3 separate regions of the Homo sapiens genome follow, and all the other regions are linked to region 3. Evidence: promoter capture Hi-C in human tissues and cell types (Jung and others, 2019). All regions are on one chromosome and are shown on one strand. The core of a region is centred on a gene start or on the middle of the fragment in contact, and the rest is flanking DNA. Distances in the headings are between cores, read along the strand shown.

The links. Contacts are between HindIII fragments. The study calls those that stand out against the background at their distance.
Region 1: a fragment that was not itself captured here is called in contact with the fragment with the promoter of DHODH in region 3 in 3 of the 25 tissues and cell types used here (mesenchymal stem cells, ovary and thymus).
Region 2: a contact is called between a fragment that was not itself captured here and the fragment with the promoter of DHODH in region 3, in 2 of the 25 tissues and cell types used here (mesenchymal stem cells and spleen).

The regions. Positions count from the first base shown.
Region 1 is chr16:71,971,841-71,976,136 of GRCh38, reverse strand. PKD1L3 (polycystin 1 like 3, transient receptor potential channel interacting) reads left to right here. Exons shown (of 30, transcript NM_181536.2): 12 at 2,620-2,813. Among named protein-coding and RNA genes, the nearest start is that of PKD1L3, 26 kb to the left of the region's middle. The HindIII fragment of the contact is 8,318 bases long and covers 1-4,296 here.
Region 2 is chr16:71,953,001-71,957,131 of GRCh38, reverse strand. PKD1L3 (polycystin 1 like 3, transient receptor potential channel interacting) reads left to right here. Exons shown (of 30, transcript NM_181536.2): 17 at 2,831-3,027; 18 at 4,039-4,131. Among named protein-coding and RNA genes, the nearest start is that of PKD1L3, 45 kb to the left of the region's middle. The HindIII fragment of the contact is 9,768 bases long and covers 1-4,131 here.
Region 3 is chr16:72,006,367-72,010,452 of GRCh38, reverse strand. It overlaps DHODH (dihydroorotate dehydrogenase (quinone)), which reads right to left and starts at 1,709. Exons shown (of 9, transcript NM_001361.5): 1 at 1,668-1,709. The coding sequence starts at 1,688. It also overlaps the pseudogene ATP5F1AP3. RefSeq lists silencers at 1,715-1,914, 1,858-1,957. The HindIII fragment of the contact is 8,550 bases long and covers 1-4,086 here.

The DNA.
Region 1 (4,296 bases), core at 1,397-3,896, 35 kb after region 3:
ATCTCTCCTAAAAGTATAAAAATTAGCTGGTCATGGTGGTGCACACATGTAATCCCAGCTACTCGGGAGACTGAGGCATGAGAATCACTTGAACCCAGGAGGCAGAGGTTGCAGTGAGCTGAGATTGTGCCACTGCTGTCCAGCCTGGGTGACAGACCCTGCCTCAAAAAAAAAAAAAAGAACAGAAACAGCTTGTATACCTCTCATCCAGTTTCTCTGAATGGTAGTATCTTGCATAACTAGAGTATATCACAACCAGAAAATAACATTAATACAATCACTGATTTTATTCCGATTTCACCAGGTTTACAAGCACATTTCTGTATGTGTGTGTATTGAGTCCTGTGTGATTTTACCACATGTGTAGACACGTGACCATAAAATCATTTTTTTTTAAAGATGGATTATAGGATGGATAAGGATATGTATGTAAGGAAGCAGACTTAGTAGGATGTTAATTGTAGAATCTAGTTAATGGTTATATGGTTATTCCCTGTAAAATTCTTTGTATGGTTGAAGATTTTCATAATAACATGTTGAGACCCACAGCAGAAGTAAGGCTCACAGCACCATGAGTTAAATATACTTCACATTTATATATTGTAGATGACTATATATGAAATATGTCCTATGTATTTCAACTTTATTTCTAATCTTAGATTTGAGGAAGAAAGGCCTGATGATATCTCAGTATGCCTTGGTATAAAATCAGAATGAATGTATTGTAGTTTAGAAAAGTTAAGAATTTCTGAGACATAACATTACAGTTAAAAATGTCTGGCCTGGTGTAGTGGCTCACCCCTGTAACGCCAGCACTTTGAGAGGCCAAGGCAGGAGGATCACTTAAGCCCAGGAATTTGAGACTAGCCTGGGCAACAGAGCGAGACTCTGTCTCCACAAAAAAAAAAAAAAAATTAGCCGAGCGTGGTGGCGTGCACCTGTAGTCCTAACTACTTGGGAGGCTGAGGCAAGAGGATTGCTTGAGCCAAGGAGTTCAAAGCCACAATGAGTTTCGATGATACCACTGCACTCCAGCCTGGGTGACAGAGCAAGACACTGTCTCTAAAAAATAAAAATTCCTGATATATATAAATAGTGCCCAGATATACTTGATCAAAACCATGCTCTGTGGGTATCAACTTTAAATATAGTACTGAAAAGTCTTAATAAGAGCTACACTTCTGTATTTATTTTTACGTTGGGAAAAATCTGAATGGAGAAAGCATGCTACAGTCTCCCGTCATGACCACCTTCCATACTGGAAAGAACTTTCTCTGGCTCTCGCATGGGCACCACTCACACAGGAACAATCACTTCTAAGTTCTTGCTTTTAGGCAAAGTCCCCGAGGCAGCAATGCTCACTACCAGGCTGCCCACTACAGAATCTGTGGAAATTACCAACGGGCCCTTTCCCAATTCCAAAGGTGTACTCAGTTTTGTTTCTGTTTCTGTTTTGAGACAGGCTCACTGTGTCGCCCAGGGTGGAGCGCAGTGGTGCGATCTCCACTCACTGTAGCCTCCGCCTCCTGGGCTCAAGCGATTCTCATGCCTCAGCCTCCCAAGCAGCTGGGACTGCAGGCGCATATGCCACCATGCCTGGCTAATTTTTTGTGTTTTTAGTAGAGACAGGGTTTTGCCATGTTCGCCAAGCTAGGTCTCAAACTCCTGGGCTCAAATAATCCTCCTGCCTTAACCTCCCAAAGTGCTTGGATTATAGGCCTGAGCCACTGCGCCTGGCCATGGACTCAGTTTTTCTTGGTGATCTTGGCAATGATATGTCATTCAGAGCCGGAAGGGGCCTTCAGGAACCTTTTTTTGAGAGACAGGACTATTTGAAAGATGAGAAAGCTGAGGCCCAGAGAGACTGGATGACTCACCTTAGCCCCTACCAGCCAGCTGGTGACAGAGCCAGGCCCGACCTCCGGTCCCTAGCGTGCAGTCCTGGGCTTTGTTCCTGAAGCTGCCCTATCTCTATGTTTGCTTCACCCTGGGGTTTGTTACCTTAGTCTTCTATCTGCTAACTTAGATATGTGCTCATTTCATTTTTCTAAACCTCGTAATACATTCTAAATCATTAGACCTAAATGTTCACATGTTCACATACCAGAAGAATATATATATTTTTTTTTTTTTTTGAGACAAAATCTCACTCTGTTGCCCAGGCTAGAGTATAGTGGTGCGATTTCGGCTCACTGCAACTTCCACCTCCCAAGTTCAAGCAATTTTCCTGCCTCAGCCTCCTGAGTAGCTGGGATTACAGGCTCACATCACCACACCCCACTAATTTTTGTATTTTTAGTAGAGATGGGGTTTCACCATGTTCACCAGGCTGGTCTCGAACTCCTGACCTCAAGTGATCCGCCCGCATCAGCTTCCCAAAGTGCTGAGATTATAGGCGTGAGTCACCACACCTGGCCAAAAGACTGTAGTTCTTTACTGGAACAGTAGTAATCCAGAGCCCAGGGTTGTATCACTGGTCATTTTCTTTCAAATCATTTGTGACTCTAGTTTCATCATGGTCTCATTTGTAAAATATTAATAATAGATCCTTTAGAAGAGAGGTTCATTGGTGTTTTTGTTCCATTTGATATACAAGTAAGCACTCTTCTTTGTTCTAAGATGAGGAGTACACGTGGGTGCTGAATCCAGAGCATCTGCAGCACGGGATTGGCACCTACTATATAACAGCTGTGCTGAGTGAGAGGCAGGAGGGTGCTCAGCAGACACCCAGCTTGGTCTCGGTCATCACCGCCGTCACTCAGTGTTACTACTGGGAGATCCACAACCAGACATGGAGCAGCGCCGGATGCCAAGTAAGAAACTGAGCCGCTTCTTGGGCCTCTCTTCTGCCATAGCTACTGTTAAGCCCAATGCATCCGTTATCTCATTTGGGGCAGCCCAGAAAGAAAAATAATCAGGTGGTTTGAAATAACTCTGCCTGGGCAAAAGGAGGGAGGAGGGTTGTGTGTGGTGGGCAGGGCAAGTGTGCCTCTTCGAAGCAGGAGCAGCTTTGTGCTTTATCTTTGTGATTTCTTTCTCAAACACAGTCCAGGGTGGATCTGACAAGTGTGGATAAAATAGCGTGTGGAAGCCATAAAATTCTACAAGTATTAAATATGTTGTGGGTGGGTAAAATGAAACCTCTTGCTAAACGAAGGAGAACTTTCATAGCTCAAGAAATACATTCTCAGATTCTTTTACGTTCCAGGCCAGGTGAGGACAGGTTGTCACTTTTGTAATTATCACCTTGTTCCTGGTGTCCAACTGCTTTAAACCAGCACTATTATATTTGCACACTCGTGATTCTGTGAGATCCTGCCTGATGAAAGTCCTGGTTTGGTTGCTCAAAGAATGTGGTGTAAGGTCTTGCAAATCAGCAAGCTGTTCTAAAAAGAGCTGAGAAAGTGCCATCTAGATTGGAAAGAGAAGGAAAGATAATTTTCTTTTTTTTTTGAGGTGGGATCTCATTCTGTCCCTCAGGCTGGAGTGCAGTGGCATGATCACGGCTTACTGCAGCCTCAACCTCCTGGGCTCAAAAGATCCGCCTGCCTCAAACTTTCAAGTAATGAGGACCACAGGCATGTGCCACCATGCCTGGCTAATGTTTTAGATTTTTGAACAGACAGGGTCTCGCCATGGTGCCTATGCTGGTCTTGAACTTCTGAGCTCAAGCAATCCTCCCTCCTGCACTTTGGGAGGCCAGAAGGAGGAGGAGGAGGATGATGATGATTACTTATAGAGGGAGTTTCCCTCTTGTTGCCCAGGCTGGAGTGCAATGGCATGATCTCGGCTCACCGCAACCTCTGCCCCGCTGGGCTCAAGCGATTCTCCTGCCTCGGCCTCCCCAGTAGCTGGGATTACAGGCATGCACCACCACACCCAGCTAATTATTGTTTTTTTTTGTTTTTTTGTGTGTTTTTTTGAGACCAGTCTTGCTCTATCGGCCAGGCTGGGGTGCAGTGGCGCGATCTTGGCTCACTGCAAACTCTGCCTCCCAGGTTCATGCCATTCTCCTGCCTCAGCCTCCCAAGTAGCTAGGACTACAGGCACCCACCACTGCGCCCGGCTAATTTTGTGTATGTTTATTAGAGACAGGGTTTCACCGTGTTAGCCAGGATGGTCTCGATCTCCTGTCCTCGTGATCCGCCTGCCTCGGCCTCCCAAAGTGCTGGGATTACAGGTGTGAGCCACCGTGCCCGGCCTAATTACTGTATTTTTAGTAGAGATGGGGTTTCTCCATGTTGGTCAGGCTGGTCTCAAACTCCCGACCTCAGGTGATCTGCCCGCCTTGGCCTC
Region 2 (4,131 bases), core at 26-2,525, 53 kb after region 3:
ATATTTTTAAATTATTTTCTTTATGCCTCCCCTGGGGATTATAATTAAAATTCTAATTTATGAAAACCTAGCTGGATTACTATCAACTTAATTTCAATAGTATACAAAAACTTCACTCCTGTAGCTCAGTTCCTTTCCCACTCTTTTGTGCTATTGTTGTCATACAAATTACATCTTCATGCATTGTGTGTCCATCATATAGATTCTTAATCACTGCTGCATGTAGTTATTTTTTAAGGCAGAAGAGTTGCAATCTATATATTTATTTATGTGTATGTTTACACTGTTTTTACAACTTTTAAAATTACGGTAAAAACACATAACATTTACCATCTTCACCATTTTTAAGTGTGTAGTGCAGTAGTAGTATATATATTGATACTGCTGTGCAACAGAGCTCCAGAGCTTTTTCACTTTGCAAAACTGAAACTCTACACCCATTGAACAACTTCCTGTTCCCTCCCCCTTCCAACCCTTGGCAACTATTCTTTCTATTTCTATAAATTTCATTACTTCACATTCCTCATGTAAGCAGAACCATACAGTATTTGTCTGTCGGTGACTGGCTTATTTCATTTATCACAATGTCCTCAAGGTTCATTCATGCTGTAGCATGTGCAAGAATTTCCTTCCTTTTTGGGCCGGGTGCGGTGGCTCACACCTGTAATCTCAGCACTTTGGGAGGCCGGGTCGGGTGGATCACCAGAGGTCCGGAGTTTGAGATAGCTTGGCCAACATGGTGAAACTCCATCTCTACTAAAAATACAAAAATTAGCCAGGCATGGCTGTGGTTGCCTGTAATCCCAGCTACTTGGGAGGCTGACACAGAAGGATTGCTTGAACTTGGGAGGTGAAGGTTGCAGTGAGCCAAGATCAGGCCATTGCACTCCATCCTAGGTGACAAGAGTGAAACTCCATCTCACAAAAAAAAAAAAAAAAAAAAAAAATTCCTTCCTTTTTAAAGCTAAATGATGGGCCAGGTGCAGTGGCTCACACCTGGAATCCCAGCGCTTTGGGAGGCTGAGACAAGTGGATCACTTGAGCTCAGGAGTTCGAGACCAGCCTGGGCAACATGGTAAAACTCCATCTCTACAAAAAATACAAAATTTAGCCAGGTGTTATATTTAGTCTATTCTCATGCTGCTATGGAGACGTACCTAAGACTGGGTAATTTGTAAAGGAAAGACGTTTAATTGACTCACAGTTAAGCATGGCTTGGGAGGCCTCAGGAGACTTACAATCATGGCAGAAGGGGAAGCAAACACATCCTTCTTCACATGGCAGCAAGGAGAATGAGTGCCCAGTGAAGTGGGGAGCACCTTATAAAACCATCAGGTCTTGTGAGAACTCGCTCACGATCACAAGAACAGGATGGGGGAAACTGACCCCATGATTCAGTTATCTCCACCTGGTTCCTCCCATGACAGAGGAGAGGATTGTGGAAACTACAATTCAAGATGAGATTTGGGTGGGGATACAGCTAAGCCCTATTAGGTGTAGTGGTGTGCACCTGCACACCACTGAGGTGGGAGGATCACTTGAGCCAGGGGGATGGAGGTTGCAATGAGCTGAGATCTCACCACTGCACTCCACTCCAACCTGGGTGACGCAGCAAGACCCTGTCTCAAAAACAAAAAACTAAATGATATTCTGTTATGTGTGTGTGTTTATATACACCCCTTTTTTTGTTTGTTTTTTAGATGGAGTCTCTCTGTAGCCCAGGCTGGAGTGCAGTGGTGCGATCTCAGCTCACTGCAACCTCTGCCTCCTGGGTCCCATTAAATTAATTTCTTTTGGGCTGGATTATTACTTTCCCTCTCCCTCCCACTCCTCTCCCTGCCACTGCACCTCCACACACACACACATACCATCCCTTCCACCCCTTCCACCACAAACACCACCCGTGACTGGTTTTGCTACTGTTTTCATTCCAACCCTTCACATCTCCAGTCTAGAACTGGGCCTTATTATATGGGACCTTGGAGCTCCTATTTTTCAATGAAATTAATGGAACTAGGAGTATTGCAGATCTTGTCATGAGCCTTGGATCTCTTGACTTAGTTCCTGGTCATGAAGCTGTCCTTTTTTTCTCACCTCCTTACTATAAATGTGTAGCCCTACAGAGGTTTTTTTGTTCTCAAGTATCCTTTCATGAGCTCCAGGCTCAACACTGGCTTCTAGCAATGAAGTTGGCTTTGTCCCTCCCTTTTCTGCACCCAGTGAATCATTTTTAGTTTCAGTTACTGTACAAAAGTCAAACTCCCACTTTTGTACTACCTTCCTCCAGGTCTGGAGCTCAGTAATCCTGTGGCTTCTACCTCACTCTGACCACCTTGTTTTCTCATTCTGCTTCTCTTCCTCAGAAAAGGTTTATTTTGTGTTTAAGCCCAGCAAAGTCTTTTTGGTTCTTTCTTTTTATATATTATTTATAGTTCCTCCATATTTGGAGTAGAGAAAGTGCTCAGAGTATGAATTTACCAAACTATTTTGAGCAGAAGTTTAATGTAAACTTTTGAAGAGTAAAAAATTCATCAAAACTCTTATAAAGCTAAAACAACCATTTTTAATTTTAAACTCGCATAGCATATAAATTATCCTCAACAACCTTTTATCCTAAAACAACAAAAGAATCTTACATGGACACATTCGGGTGATGGTAAAAGAATTTAAAATAAAAAAAGAATTAAAATATCTGAAAGCTTATTCACAGAGGTGTTGAATAGAGGCTTGGGAGTTGCTATGTCGCTTGTTGCTGGGCAAATCACATCTTAAACTGGTGCACTTTCAGAATAAAATCTCATGTATTTCCTCTTCTGATTTCTCTTTTCAGACATCTGTTTTCCTCCATGATTGTGGAAAAGTTCACCCAGGATTATCTGTGGCTTTCAATTGCAACTCGGCATCCCTGGAACCAGTTTACAAGGGTCCAACGGCTGTCTTGCTGCATGACACTGCTACTCTGCAACATGGTCATCAATGTTATGTTCTGGAAGATAAACAGCACCACTGCCAAGAGAGATGAGCAAAGTATGGATGAGCCCTGATGTGTGTTGTTTGTAGTAAGCAATCCTTTTTTTTTTTTGAGACAGGGTCTTGCTCTGTTACCCAGGCTGGTCTAGAACTCCTGGCCTCAAGTGATCCTCCTGCCTCAGCCTCCTGAAGTGCTAGGATTACAGGCACGAGTCACCATGCCCAGCCTACTATGCAATACTTTAACTAAACTCCACTACCCTTACTTTCAGGATTAGAAAGAAACAGAATCATGTGGTGTGATATGGTTTGGCTCTGTGTCCCCACCCAAATCTCACGTCCAACTGTAATCCCCCTGTGTTGGGGCGGGGGGAGGACTTGCTGGGAGGTGACTGGATCATGGGGGCAGTTTCTCCCATGCTTTTCCCATGATAGTGAGTTCTCATGAGATCTGATGGTTGAATTGCTTAAACCCAGGAGGCGGAGGTTGCAGTGAGCCGAGATTGCACCACTGCACTCCAGCCTGGGTGACAGCAAAACCCCGTCTCGGGGATTAAAAAAAAGTGTGTGGCAGTTCCCCTGTCACTCTTCTGCCACCATGTAAGATGCTTTGCTTTGTAAGGCATGTAAAGTGTTAATGCCAGGTAAGGTGCTTTGTAGTGCTTTGTAATGCTTTGTAATGCCATGTAAGGTTTCTTGCTTCCTCTTCACCTCCTGCCATGACAGTGAGTTTCCTGAGGCCTCCCCAGCCATGAAGAACTTTTCTTTATAAATTACCCAGTCTCAGATAGTTCTTTATAGCAGTGTGAAAACAGACTAATACATTGTGCCTTCATTTTTCTTCCACTGCCCTAACGTTAGAATACTCTAACAAATTTTCTCAGTGTTCTCATTCATTAACAAATGAAGCAGTATTAGGAACACAACATGGTCTTTACTGCCAGGATAATTTTATCTCTAGATAAACGTAGTTAACTTCCTCAGTAAATAGTTAAACCTAGGAGAGGAATGACTTTGCGATTATTTTAATTGTTGAAGATGAAAGTTGATGTCATGCTTTTCTTTCAGTGCGTCCATTTGCTGTGGCCTGGTCTGAACTGCTGGTCAGCATCCATACTGCTGTCATCCTCTTCCCAATCAATCTTGTCATAGGGCGGCTCT
Region 3 (4,086 bases), core at 460-2,959:
ATAAAAAGTATAAGGTAATGGAAGTATTCAACCTAATCTTAGAGGTAAGGAAAGGCTTCCTTAAGGAAATGACTTAAAGCTGATACTCAAGGGATAAACGAGTTGATGGGGGTCTCTCTGAACCTATTCTGGTTCAATTATTTAAAAAAATAGTTAACCAGAAGGCAGTACGGAGAGGAAAAAGTGTAAAGGCTCTCTCAGTAGCAGAAGAGAATGAAAAAGGGAGAAAGTTTGGAACAGAGGAGTGAGGGAAAGTAAGGCTTAAGACGAGGCAGGAGAAAGGAGCAGGAGTCTTGGCCAAAATAAAGATTTGGGTTTTGTTCCCTAAGCCAGGAAATGACATGATTAGATTTGCTTTTAAGGATCCTTCCAAACTGCTAAAGACATGTAGATCAAGTATTCATTGGCTGGGCGCGGTAGCCCACGCCTGTAATCCCACCACTTTGGGAGGCTGAGGCGGGAAGATCCCTTGAGGCCAATAGTTCTAGACCAGCCTGGGCAACACAGTGAGATCCCATCTCTCTCCATTTATTTATTTTAAAAAGAGACTCAGGCCGAGCGCGGTGGCTCACGCCAGTAATCCCAGCACTTTGGGAGGCTCACGAGGTGAGGAGTTCGAGACCAGCCTGACCAACATGGTGAAACTGCAGTCTCTACTAAAAATACCAAAATTAGCCAGTCGTGGTGGCGCGCGCCTGTAATCTCAGCTACGCAGGAGGCCGAGGCAGGAAAATCGGTTGAACCCGGGAGGCGGAGGTTGCAGTGAGCCAAGATCGCGCCACTGCACTCCAGCCTGGGCGACAGCCCAAGACTCCGTCTCAAATAAACATATAAAAAGAAAGTCAAGGTTATTCATTGCCTCCCTTGGAGACTGTACTCCCCCCCACCATGTCAATCAACAAATATCTGAACACCTATTTTTTTTTTTTTTTTTTTTTTTTTTGAGACGGAGTCTCGCTCTGTCGCCCAGGCCGGACTGCGGACTGCAGTGGCGCAATCTCGGCTCACTGCAAGCTCCGCTTCCCGGGTTCACGCCATTCTCCTGCCTCAGCCTCCCGAGTAGCTGGGACTACAGGCGCCCGCCACCGCGCCCGGCTAATTTTTTGTATTTTTAGTAGAGACGGGGTTTCACCTTGTTAGCCAGGATGGTCTCGATCTCCTGACCTCATGATCCACCCGCCTCGGCCTCCCAAAGTGCTGGGATTACAGGCGTGAGCCACCGCGCCCGGCCTCTGAACACCTATTACATACGGGGATACAGCTAAGAACTTTTCACAGAGACCCCCGCCCCTAACAAAACTTTACCTAAAAGGGTTGGGAGCATGTCCTACTCTAGTTTCATTCCCCGTTGGATCCGGCACACAACGCTAGGCGGTCATGTGTTCACTAAGCACCCCTGTGCCAGGCTCAAAAACATGGCCCAGGCGCAGACACTCAGATCAGCACCCACCCAGACCTGCAGGCGCTGTCTGCACACGCCTGACCGAGTCCACGTGCAAATGCACACGCACGAGCATTTGCAGGAGACCCCGGAAACACGCACACGTCCCAGGGGGGCCCACACTCCCGGAGCCGCCTTCGGTCCATGCCTCGCCCGGCCTGACTCTCCGTTCTCGCCCTCCCCGGTCCCTGGTCCCCCATCCACACTGCTCACTCGCGGGACTCACTTTCAGGTGTCTCCACGCCATGCTCCTTCCGTCATTAAGCCCGCCCCTGTCTCCCTTCCATTGGAGGAGATGGTGGCGGCCCCTCTTGTCTCCGCCCCTTAGCCGCCAACCCACCAGTCGCCGGGCAGAAGGGTTGAGAGGACGCCTCCGCGCAGCGGGGAAGGCCCGGCACCACCCCCAGGTTCTGGTTGGGTGCACGTGCGCAGTAGCGGCGGCCACGCCTCTTCCGCCCGCCCTCTCCCAGCCTGCCCGCTTGATCGCCGGCTGTTGGCGGAGATGAGATGCCGCTGCACGGTGTTTGTCCGTACTACCGCAGCCTCGAATCCAAGAGTCCGCGAGCATCAAAACACTGTGTTTCACACCAGAAATATTTGTACAGTTTTTATCACTTTAAAAAATAAATTTTACTGCTGTGTTGATATAAAGATGAATATGTTAATATATAAACTTTTTCAACTTAAAAGTTGATTTTTCTTAAGGTTTTTTAAGGAAATTAAAACATTTTCTTGAGGCCGGGCATGGTGGCTCACGCCTGTAGTCCCAGCACTTTGGGAGGCTGAGGCAGGCAGATCACTTGAGGTCAGGAGTTCGAGACCTGGTCAACACCCAAAACCCCGTGTCTACTAAAAAATAAAATAAAATACAAAAATTAGCCGGGCGTAGTGGCAGGCGCCTGTAATCCCAGGTACTCGGGAGGCTGAGGCAGGAGAATCGCTTGAACCCAGAAGGTGGAGGTTGCAGTGAGCCGAGATAGCACCACTGCACTCCAGCCTGGGCGACAAAGCAAGACTCTGTCTCAAAAACAAACAAAGAAAAATAACCAAAAAAAAAAAATTTCTTGAGATCCTAAAAGTGTCAGAGGCCCTTCCCTGGCCCTGCGCCTGTTGTGCCTCCTGGAGAAAGTGGCCCTGGTTATACCTTGGCATTGTGGTGCAACAGATGTGGAGGTATTTTTTTAAATACTGTTTCTAATCAAGACCCTGAGTGTGCAGGCCCGTTGGAGTGTGGTTTACTGCGGTGATTTTTTTTTTTTTTTTTTTTTTTTTTTGACAGAGTCTTGCTCTGTTGCCCAGGCTGCAGTGCAGTGGCGCGATCTCGGCTCACTACAAGCTCCGCCTCCCGGGTTCACGCCATTCTCCTGCGTCAGCCTCCCGAGTAGCTGGGACTACAGGCGCCCGCAACCATGCCCGGCTCATTGTTTTGTATTTTAGAGACGGGGTTTCACCGTGTTAGCCAGGATGGTACTGCGGTGATTTATGACGACCTAATGTGTCACTTTGTAGTCCTCTGAAGCAATCGTGCCCTCACGAAGAATTTTGAAATGTCTTACCTAATGATGTCCTGGCCGTTGGAGAATAGCCTCTGTAGACTTAGGTGTCAACAGCATTAATCAGATACTTATTGTTTGGAGGCTCTACACCCATCCGTGTCATTTTTGTCCAGTTGCAGTGTTCCCGCCATCAGCTGAAATAGCTGGGTTATTGTCGTAGCAGAAATTAGAGCAAAAGAAAGGTGTATGAAATATCTTGAGTCAAGCCATTTTTGAGCTTCATCAGTTGTATGAAGCTATCAAATTAGAACAAATTCACAGACCCAGCTGAGACTTAGAGACAGATTCTACTGCAATAATTTACATGCTAGGTGTTTCAGTCTACATGCAATAGAAATCATTGAAAACATTTATCAAGGTAAAAGTTATGCTTATCAACCTGTCTTCCCTTTACACTTTAATGGAATAAGTTAATTCAGCACACCTTAGTCAACATAAATCATTGCTCATCTGGGACAAAAAACTACTTACATGTTTATCCTCAGTTCTGAGCACTCTCTCACCAATTTTTTGGTCGTTTAAATTAAAACTTTTATTGATAGAGTGCTTGTGTCTTAGATAAAGCATGTATTGAAAGAATATATACAAGGACTTTACCCTTTATGAAAAGGATTGAAATGAAATTACAGCATTGTGTAAGATACCTGACTTGACTTTCAGAGATTTCATCAACATCAGGTTTCATTTAAAAATGCTTGAAACGGTCCCAGTCAGTCCAGAGGCTGCGGCTGTGGAGGTACCACCTGTGGAGAAACTGCAAAGATGCTGTCTGTGTGTGTCTCCGCGGCCGTAGCCCGTGACCTCACTCGGTGGGCAGGACTGGTCTCCAGAAATGCTTTGGGTTCATCTTTCATTGCTGCAAGGAACCTCCATGCCTCTAACACTCATCTTCAGAAGACTGGGACTGCTGAGATGTCCTCTATTCTTAAAGAGCATGTTCTTGGAGCTGATACCTCTGCTGACCTTGAAGAAACTGGGCATGTCTTAAGTATTGGTGATGGTATTGTCCATGTACATGGGCTGAGGAATGTTCCAAGCAGAAGAAATGGTAGAGTTTTCTTCAGGCTTAAAGGATATGTCCTTGAACTT